Regions from separate parts of the Homo sapiens genome. Here all the other regions are linked to region 2. Evidence: promoter capture Hi-C in human tissues and cell types (Jung and others, 2019). All regions are on one chromosome and are shown on one strand. The core of a region is centred on a gene start or on the middle of the fragment in contact, and the rest is flanking DNA. Distances in the headings are between cores, read along the strand shown. Region 1 holds the start of GDPD1 (glycerophosphodiester phosphodiesterase domain containing 1). Region 2 holds the start of TEX14 (testis expressed 14, intercellular bridge forming factor). Region 3 overlaps CUEDC1 (CUE domain containing 1).

The links. Contacts are between HindIII fragments. The study calls those that stand out against the background at their distance.
Region 1: the fragment with the promoter of GDPD1 here is called in contact with the fragment with the promoter of TEX14 in region 2 in 1 of the 25 tissues and cell types used here (stomach).
Region 3: a contact is called between a fragment that was not itself captured here and the fragment with the promoter of TEX14 in region 2, in 1 of the 25 tissues and cell types used here (IMR-90 fibroblasts).

The regions. Positions count from the first base shown.
Region 1 is chr17:59,218,868-59,221,931 of GRCh38, forward strand. It overlaps GDPD1 (glycerophosphodiester phosphodiesterase domain containing 1), which reads left to right and starts at 1,644. Exons shown (of 10, transcript NM_182569.4): 1 at 1,644-1,884. The coding sequence starts at 1,743. RefSeq lists an enhancer at 1,670-2,220. The HindIII fragment of the contact is 11,394 bases long and covers 1-3,064 here.
Region 2 is chr17:58,690,099-58,693,294 of GRCh38, forward strand. It overlaps TEX14 (testis expressed 14, intercellular bridge forming factor), which reads right to left and starts at 1,947. Exons shown (of 32, transcript NM_031272.5): 1 at 1,841-1,947. IGBP1C (IGBP1 family member C) reads right to left here and starts at 1,947. Exons shown (of 2, transcript NM_001395966.1): 1 at 1,841-1,947. It overlaps RAD51C (RAD51 paralog C), which reads left to right and starts at 2,504. Exons shown (of 9, transcript NM_058216.3): 1 at 2,504-2,690. The coding sequence starts at 2,546. RefSeq lists enhancers at 2,262-2,361, 2,692-2,861. The HindIII fragment of the contact is 12,262 bases long and covers 1-3,196 here.
Region 3 is chr17:57,916,321-57,919,280 of GRCh38, forward strand. The region is part of intron 1 of CUEDC1 (CUE domain containing 1); the gene reads right to left. Among named protein-coding and RNA genes, the nearest start is that of CUEDC1-AS1, 5.6 kb to the left of the region's middle. The HindIII fragment of the contact is 7,776 bases long and covers 1-2,960 here.

The DNA of each region.
Region 1 (3,064 bases), core at 394-2,893, 530 kb after region 2:
GCTTCCATAGTCATCAGGTGATATTTTGAAAAATAGAACTATGTGCGTCAGTTGATCTACAGGAAATAGTTTAACAGCCCTAAACAGAACACATGATTTTTTAACCTGTAAGTTTCCTCAGAATGTTGCTCTGTTGCCCAGGCTGGAGTGCAGTGGCACCATCAAGGCTCACTTCAACCTCGACTAAAGGAATTTTTTTTTTTTTTTTTTTTTTTTTTTTTTTTTTTTTTTTTGAGACGGAGTCTCGCTCTGTCACCCAGGCTGGAGTGCAGTGGCGCCTTCTCGGCTCATTGCAACCTCTGCCTCCCGGGTCCAAGAGATTCTCCTGCCTCGGCCTCCTGAGTAGCTGGGATCACAGGCACACGCCACCACCCCTGGCAAATTTTTGTATTTTTAGTAGAGATGGAATTTCGCCATGTTGGCCAGGCTCCTGACTTCAAATGATCTGCCCGCCTCAGCCTCCCAAAGTGCTGGGATTACAGGCTTGAGCCACCGTGCCCAGCCACCCCCTATTTTCTTCTAATTTTCTTTTTATAGTTGAGATAGGGTCTTGCTCTGTCGCCCAGGCTGGGGTGCAGTGGTGCAGTCATAGCTCACTGCAGCCTCGATTTTCCAGGCTCAAGCAATACTCCCACTTCAGCCTCCCAAGTAGCGTGACTACAGGTGCACGCCACCACGCCGGGCTTATTTTGTTTTATTTTTTGTAGAGATGGGGTTTCGCCATGTTGCCCAGGCTGGTCTCGAACTCCCGGGCTCAAGCGATCCACCCTTCCTTCCCGGCCTCCCTAAGTGCTGGGATTACAGGCGTGGGCCACCGCGCCCGGCTGAATCAGGATTTTAAATATTCACTCTGCTTTTCTAGTCCTGTGGGAGATATGGTCTTCTCCGTAAAATTTCTCCCTCAGTCCTGGGTGATTTATTTCTTTTGCATTGAAGTGTGTGGCTTTTCGTGTGTTAGCAGTTTGTAATTTGTCGGGTAAAAGGAAAACTAGTAGGGCCTTCTGGAACTTAGTTATCTGTCTTTCTAGGACTTTTAGGTAATACCTTATAACCTTAACAAAGTTTCCTTATTTTATACGGACTTGTAAGTCAACAAATACTTCTACAGTGCCTATTGTGTACAAAGAATGAGGATTGCACTTTCACAATGAAATGAGGGAGGACAGGGGCCGATCTCTCAGATATTTGACTGATAAACCAGTACCTTTTCTAGTATATGCGACCATAGGGGAAATTCTCTCTAGGCTAGATAAACGGAGGAGTTTATTTAGTGTTTTAGCAAGCTTTATCGCCTCCATAGGTACAAATTATTTGCATTTTCTAGAGCAAGGGATAAGACGCGCCCTGGAATCTTTCCTTTTTGATGTGGATTTTCCAATTAGGAAAGGCTGCCCGTGAATAGTCTTTTCTGCTTGAGTGATGGCCAACACACTGGCAGGTTTGCAAGCTTTCTCTTCATGAGGGTCCGTCCACAGAGCTAGGTGACAAACGCTCAGTCCAGGATCTCTGCAGGTTCCTACACGGGAGCCGGAGAGCGCCTGCGCGTCGGAGCCTCTTTGTTGCTGGGGCGCTGGGGTCCAGCTGCGCGTGCGCAGTAGGCCGGCACCGACAAGTGCGCTGCACCAGTGGCACCGGCTGGGGGCGAGCCGACCTCGAGCAGCCGCCGCCGCCGCCGTCGTTGCTACTGCCGCAGCGGAGTTCAGAGGGCCCGGAGGTGGGAGACTTCCCACACGGTGACTGAGATGTCGTCCACTGCGGCTTTTTACCTTCTCTCTACGCTAGGAGGATACTTGGTGACCTCATTCTTGTTGCTTAAATACCCGACCTTGCTGCACCAGAGAAAGAAGCAGCGATTCCTCAGTAAACACATCTCTCACCGCGGAGGTGAGAGGGGTCCCCAGAACCCGATGACGGAGGTGGGGGAGGCTGAGGGTCCTTTGCGGCTCCGCAAAAGGCAGCCGGGTGCCAATCCCTGAGAGTTTGAGGAAGAATGGGGTTGTGTGAATTGAGGGCTCTTCCGGAGGTGAAGGCTGTGTGAAGGGAAGGTCTCCTGAGGGGAGGGAAGGAGAGGGATTCCCGGTCAGAGCCACGGCGGGGGTCTCTCGAGGGCAGCAGTGTGAGGGGTTCTCTGAAACGGGAAAGACACGGTCGAGAATGAAGGGTAGGTGGAGCGTTTCTCGGCGGATGGAAGGATGATCGCAAGGTCCCTTCCTAGCAGCAAGACACAAAGGGGGAGCGCCGTGCAGAACCGAGGGTACCCCGCGGGGGGCACCGGGAGCACACTGCTCCGAGCGAGCTAGTGGCTGAGTGGATGGGAAGAGCCGAGGCGACGAGGAGGGCTGGGGATTTGCATGAAGCTGGACGAGCTGTAACCCCTTGTCTGCGGTGCTGGGGGCCCGTCCCACCCCCACGTTCCGAGCACTCATAATTGAGAAGAGAGGGAAACCGAGTCCCCCGAGCCAGGGACATTTCCCAAGGTCACAATTAGAGCTAGGGCTGAACTGAGACAGGAGCTACAGCGTCCTGGTCCTCAGGGCTGGAAACCTTGCATCTTTTTTTTTTTTTTTTTGAACACTGCAATAAATAAATAAATAAATAAATAAATAAATAAACACGCAAAGACACGTGGATTTTCAACAGACTAAAAATGATTTCGTTTAGGACAGGACAGTATTGTTTAAAGAAAACAAAAATAAGTTTCTTTTGGAAAAGTGTTTTGCTAAAAGGAGCCCAGGTAGTCCACCCTCTAATTTCCCAGATAACAGGCCAAATCTTTGCTTCTTCATTATTGTGTAATAATGTGTCTTCATTGCATTTCAACTATGATGTATAAAGTGCGGTGAAATTGGATTATTTTCAATCAATTTTAACTGTTCTTTAAGGCTGAATCTTAAACCGGTTTAAAATTTGCTTGAAATTTAATACACACTTGAAATGATAATTTCTAGGAGTTTACAGTCTAAAACTTGGTGTAGTACCATAATCACTTTACTAACAAGTATTGGCCAAGGAAAAAGGTTTTGAAATATAAATACGGAAGTACATTATCATTCTTCTATATAAT
Region 2 (3,196 bases), core at 697-3,196:
ATATTAATAGCACTTAAATTATACAGCTATAGATAGAGTTGAGTGGGGGTTTTTTTGTTTTTTTTATTTTGCTTTGTTTTGTTTTTGAGATGGAGTCTCGCTCTGTCGCCCAGATTGGAGTGGAGTTACGCAATCTCAGCTCACTGCAACCTCAACCTCCCGGGCTCAATTGGTTCTCCCACCTCAGCCTCCCAAGTAGCTGGGACTAGAGGCATGTACCACCATGCTGGCTAATTTTTGTATTTTTTGTAGAGATGGGGTTTTGCCCTGTTGCCCAGGCTGGTCTCAAACTCCTGAGATCAAGCGATGTGCCCTCTTTGGCCTCCCAAAGTGCTTGGATTCCAGGCTTAAGCCACTGTGCCAGGCCAAAGTAGTTTTGAACTTTCCACTGTCAACGAAAGAAATTCTAAACACGACTGATTCCACTGAGTTTGACCAAACTAACTGAAGACTTATTGTTGAATGTGGTAATACCATGTTTTTTCTTCACCCAAGAATCTGGGTGCTTTATAAGCATAAGCATGAAATCTCCCTGAAGATAGTATTTATGCATCCACTGAGCGCTCAAATATAGACCATATTAGAAGTTAAGCAATGGGTTGAGTGGCCAACCACATTTTGGCCAGTCCTACAAGACTTTCTTTGACCTACCAAATGGGGTATAAATGCTTCTCGTATTCTCCCCGCCAGTAGGGACTCAAAATCTTAATAGCTCGGGGTAGTAAAAAGGATGCTAGGTTTGAATCTTGGCTTTAAGAAAACTGTGCTGAGGTGTTTTGTTTGTTTGAGACAGGGTTTCACTCTATCACCCAAGCTGGAGTGCAGTGGCGTGATCATAGCTCACTCCCAGGCTGAAGGGATCCTCCCACCACAGACTTCTGAGTAGCTGGGACGACCGGTGCATGCCACCATGCCCGGCTAATTTTTTGTACTTTTGGTACAGACAGTGTTTCGCCATGTTGTCGAGGCTGGTCTCAAACTCATGAGCTCAAAGAGATCCACCTGCCTCGACCTCCCAAAGTGCTGGGATTACAGGCACGAGCCACTGCGCCCGGCCAGCTTTTTTTCTTTTATCAGAATTGATATTAAACTATATGCTGAGCTTCCATGTCCTTATCTTCCTTTTGGCATGGCTATGGCCATTTGAAATGTGTGGGATTTGCTAAAGTGCTCAACATACGTTGTTTCCTTTTTTAGATCTAAGTATGTAGAGGGCTCTGATTTGCAATATTTAGAAAGTTCTTCTAAGCTGGGAAGAAAAGTCAAGACTAAGAATCATTGCCAACAGGGCCGGGCGCGGTGGCTCACGCCTGTACTCCCAGCATTTTGGGAGGCCGAGGCAGGCGGATCACGAGGTCAGGAGTTCGAGACCAGCCTGGCCAATATGGTGAAACCCCTTCTCTAATAATAATACAAAAATTAGCCGGGCATGGTGGCGTGCGCCTGTAATCCCAGGTACTCAAGAGGCTGAGGCAGGAGACTCACTTGAACCCGGGAGGCGAAGGTTGCAGTGAGCCGACATCGTGCCACTGCACTCCATCATGGGCAACACAGTGAGACTCTGTCTCAAAAAAAAAAAAAAAAAAATCGCCAATAGGTAGGGAATAAGTTACCCCCTGCTAAATAAGTTACACTCACCTAGGCAAGGAAGGAACTCATAAACCACCTTCTAAACTGCTTGCCTTCCTCCCCGAAGTTCTGTAATTTAGAGGCGGTCACTACCACTGCTTGAACACCCCTTCCCAAGTCTGTACCACAAAAGGAGCTCTTGTGTAGCCCAGCCCCTCCTTCTCAGGACCCCAGGAGCCCAGACACACTAATGGGGACATTAGTTGCTTACTTTTCCAGCTACTGCTTAAGCTAGGCAGGCCATGAAGAAATAACGGTCTCAGTAACCTCCATGCTCGGGATACGACTCCCGGGAAGACGTGGGTGGGTGCGGGGAATGCGGACTGATCCCTCCCAGCGGCCGTTGGGGGCTGGCCCACAATCCCTCGCGAGGGCGGGAAAAGCAATGTGGTCGTTGCGGGGGGGGGGGGTCAGAAAAGGGGGACGGTCAGCGGGAAGAGCCAAGAGACTGCAACTCTACAAAGAGCACGCAGATTAATTCTAATGATTGTTCCCTGAGCTTTTCACACCAAAATAATGGTAACTGGCTAGTGTGTGCCCGTTACGCTCACTACTCCCACTCGAGATCATTCCTATTAATGACTCTGAGGCTTCACCTAACAGGCCACGGTGGAGGCAAGGAAATGTGGCGTGGAGAACCCACTGGGCCTGGCTCTCCGTCCTATGGTCTCCGTCCATCGTTTTACAGTCAGGGTGTACATTTGATGAGGAATCTCTAAATGGGATTTTGGGGAATCAAAACGGAATGGTGCATAAGTGTGAAAATTTACAAGACTGCGCAAAGCTGCAAGGCCCGGAGCCCCGTGCGGCCAGGCCGCAGAGCCGGCCCCTTCCGCTTTACGTCTGACGTCACGCCGCACGCCCCAGCGAGGGCGTGCGGAGTTTGGCTGCTCCGGGGTTAGCAGGTGAGCCTGCGATGCGCGGGAAGACGTTCCGCTTTGAAATGCAGCGGGATTTGGTGAGTTTCCCGCTGTCTCCAGCGGTGCGGGTGAAGCTGGTGTCTGCGGGGTTCCAGACTGCTGAGGAACTCCTAGAGGTGAAACCCTCCGAGCTTAGCAAAGGTAACGACTCCTGATGGCAAGCTGAGGCACACCGGCCGCCGTCAGCGCCGCCTCAGTCTTCGTTCTCTCGCCTCGGCCTTCAGCCCAGTCTCCGTTAGATTCTGCTTCCTCCCACGTCCATGTTTACAGCGTGAAAGAGCTCCTCGACTCCACTTACAAGTTGTCTGAATGGTTAGGAGAACTGTGGTCGTGAAAACATTTACTAATTGCTTTTCCTCTGGCAATGCCTGCTGAATGCTTTGAGGATTGTCTCATTTAACCCTCAACCCGCTTACGTAGATTATTATATTCAGTATATGGATGAGAGAACTGATATCTTGGGGAGCTTAGGTAACTTTTCATGCTAACTGGGTTAGGAAATACTGGAGTCAGAATTGGTTGTCTAATTTTTGCTGTTCCAAGATCCAAGGGGTAAGGGTTAAATTTCAGAAATGCAGGATTTTGTGTAGGACTAGAGACACTAAGAATGAGAAAGAGAGTAGAATCCCCGGAATCTTGAGGAAGCA
Region 3 (2,960 bases), core at 252-2,751, 770 kb before region 2:
GCGGGGTCTCCCACCCCAGGCCCTCCAGGCCCCCAAAAGGCTTCCTGTCAGGCCCTGCACTGCCCCCTCCTCCCACTTTGATCCCAGAGAGGGGAGGGGGTGGAGAGTCCAGAGAAGTCCCCACTTGGCATCGATTTGCCCAAAGCAAAGGCAACACAAAGGCTGCACCTGTTTCCATGGAGATGCGACGGGGAAGCAAAGGAACAAAACAGGGAGAAACACAAACCCGTCACCACCTCCCAGGCCAGTGTGATCGATGCTGGCAGACCAGAGCCCTGACAGGAAGACAGCGGAAGGATGAAAGGTAATCAGTGGATCTAGAAGCCACACTGGGAGCCCTTTCAGGCCACAGAGAGGAGGCCAGCAGCCTCGCCCACCCCCAGGCTCACAAACTCGCCTGGGCCCCGCTCTCGAGAACCAGTCCAAGCAAAAACTCCCAGACGGAAATCCACAGTGAGCACTTACTTTACAAAAGGATTCCTTGCTTGACTAAGGGATTCCTTCAAGCAGCAAAATCCCACCTGGAGTGCACTGTCTGTTTTATTTCATTATTCACTTCTCTGAGCAGGAGGAGGAGGGGGTCAAGGGAGTAACTTCCAGGGGAAAGTTTGTGAGAAGAGATGAGGGGATGGAGGGGTGGGGACTGGACTCTGTTCATAAAACATCTCCTAGGAGAGGCCCACAAGAAAATGGAGACGTGGTGACTTTAGAAGAGAAAGGTGAGCAGGCTAAGCGCCTGAGGCCCATCCAATAGGGAGGACATGGGAACCTGAACAGTGGAGAAGAATGGGCGGCAACAGGTGTCCCACTAGGTCCCTGAGGTTGCCACAGGTCCCATCAGGGCACACAGGTGCTCTCAAAACCACTGGGCTATGGGGAAATGTGGGGGCAGCCTCATCTCCCCCAGGGCAACAAGGCCAGTGGCTTGATGCCTCCCCGGGTGAATGTTGGAGGAAGATGACAACAAGAGGCCCAGCAGATGGCAGCGGCTCAGAGGCTGTCATAAGGGCCTCTTGACTGGCACTCATTGTTCATCAGGTGACACATACTAAGTGCCACTTAGCACATGTGGTCATCCTGGGACGAAGGGGCAAGGCCATGCACCAACACAATCCTGCCCTTGGAGAGTCTCAACCAGGCCTTCACTCCACGGAGTCTCTTCCTGACTATAATTCTTACAGGGAACAAAAACCAAGGATAACAATAATACTTACTGAGCATGCCATGTGGGCCTGACACTAACACTTGTCTCATTGATCCTCTCAACCATCCCATGAGAGAGAGGCCTTTCTTCTCCCCATTGACTGATGTGGAGACAGGCACAGAGAGGTAAATAACTCACCCAAGGTCACACAGCGAGTAAGTGGCAAAGCTAGGATTCAAAAATAGGTCTGCCCAACTTCAGAGCCTGTGAACAGCAGGCTCAACACCTGCCACATCAGCCTCATTTAACAGGCAGAGACACTGAGGCTGAGAGAATGCAGGTGACGTGCACTGAGGCAGGGGCAGAGGCTGAACTCTGAAGACTACTCCTCCTGACCCACCCCAAGGCTTTTTTGCCTTGTGATGCCTCCACTAGGAATGCCAGCTGGCTTTTTTGGTGGGGTACATGGACTGCTCTGTGTAGTCACTCTCCTGTTCTGGACCTCAGTTTACCCCCTCAACAAGGTGGCATCGTTAGAGTGTGAGCCCCTGCTGTCTCACTGAGAGGAGCTGAGAAGAAACATGGGGCGTGCATTCAAGGTGTTACCAGGGAGCTGGTGGGAGAAGCAGTCTCAGTCTCAAAGATCCACAAGCTCTGTAATGTCCACAGAGCAAAATCCTAGGTAGGATATCCAGGCTGCTACTCAACAGTCTTCCCACCAGAGTACATGTGCAAAACCCTCAGGGAACCTGGGGACTTCCCAGAAGTATTCAGACATGGATGGCTTCCAGGGAATCAACTTCTGAAAGCTCCACTTCCTGTGCTTCTTCCTAAAACTGATCAGCCGGGAACCCTCTGGGTCTGCCAGTTCTCCCCTCACCAAGGCCCTCCTAAACACTTCCCAAAAGAAAGGCCTACCCCCAGTCATCCCAACCTCACCCTGGTATCCCGCCCTGGGTTATAAAAGCCACCAAAGAGACAACGGAAGAATGCAGCCCTCATGGGAGGAGTTCCAGCAGGACAAAGAACTTCCTTAAGATGTTGAGAAGGGGGCCTTATCTATCTTACCTACCCATCTGTTTATTTTAGGATTAGAATTAGGAAGCTGACACAGGGACACCTGTTTAACCTGTTTAATAAATATTTGAATTAAAAAGAGGAGTCAGAGTTTTTCCGACACAAAGTATGATTTGGCTGGCTGGTCTAACCACAAGATCCAGCCTGGCCAATTAGGAATTATGGTGGATGTTTTCCACAACTGCCTGGGCTGGGTTTGCTGTTCTAAGGCTTTGACAAAAATAAATTTGAAGCAAGTAGATGGCATACAATAGGCCTGGAAATACATTCCACTTAAAGTTATGATAAAACATTTTATATGTCAATTTTTATTTTTATTTTTATTTTTCTGAGATGGAGTCTCACTCTGTCACCCAGGCTGGAGTGCAGTGGCATGATCTTGGCTCAGTGCAGCCTCCACCTCCCGGGATGAAGCGATGCTTCTGCCTCAGCCTCCCCAGTAGCTGGGATTACAGGCGCCTGCCACCACGCCCAGCTAATTTTTGTATTATAGTAGAGACAGGGTTTCTCCATGTGGGCCAGGCTGGTCTCGAACTCCTGACTCCAAGTGATCCTCCTGCCCTGGCCTCCCAAACTGCTGAGATTACAGGTGTGAGCCCCTGCACCCGGGAATATATGTCAATTTTTATGTTTTCTTAATTAATTTTTCTTTTGTGAGACGGAGTTCTGCTCTTGTCATCCAGGCTGGAGTACAATGGCGCGATCTCGGCTCACTGCAACCTCCGCCTCCCGGGTTCGA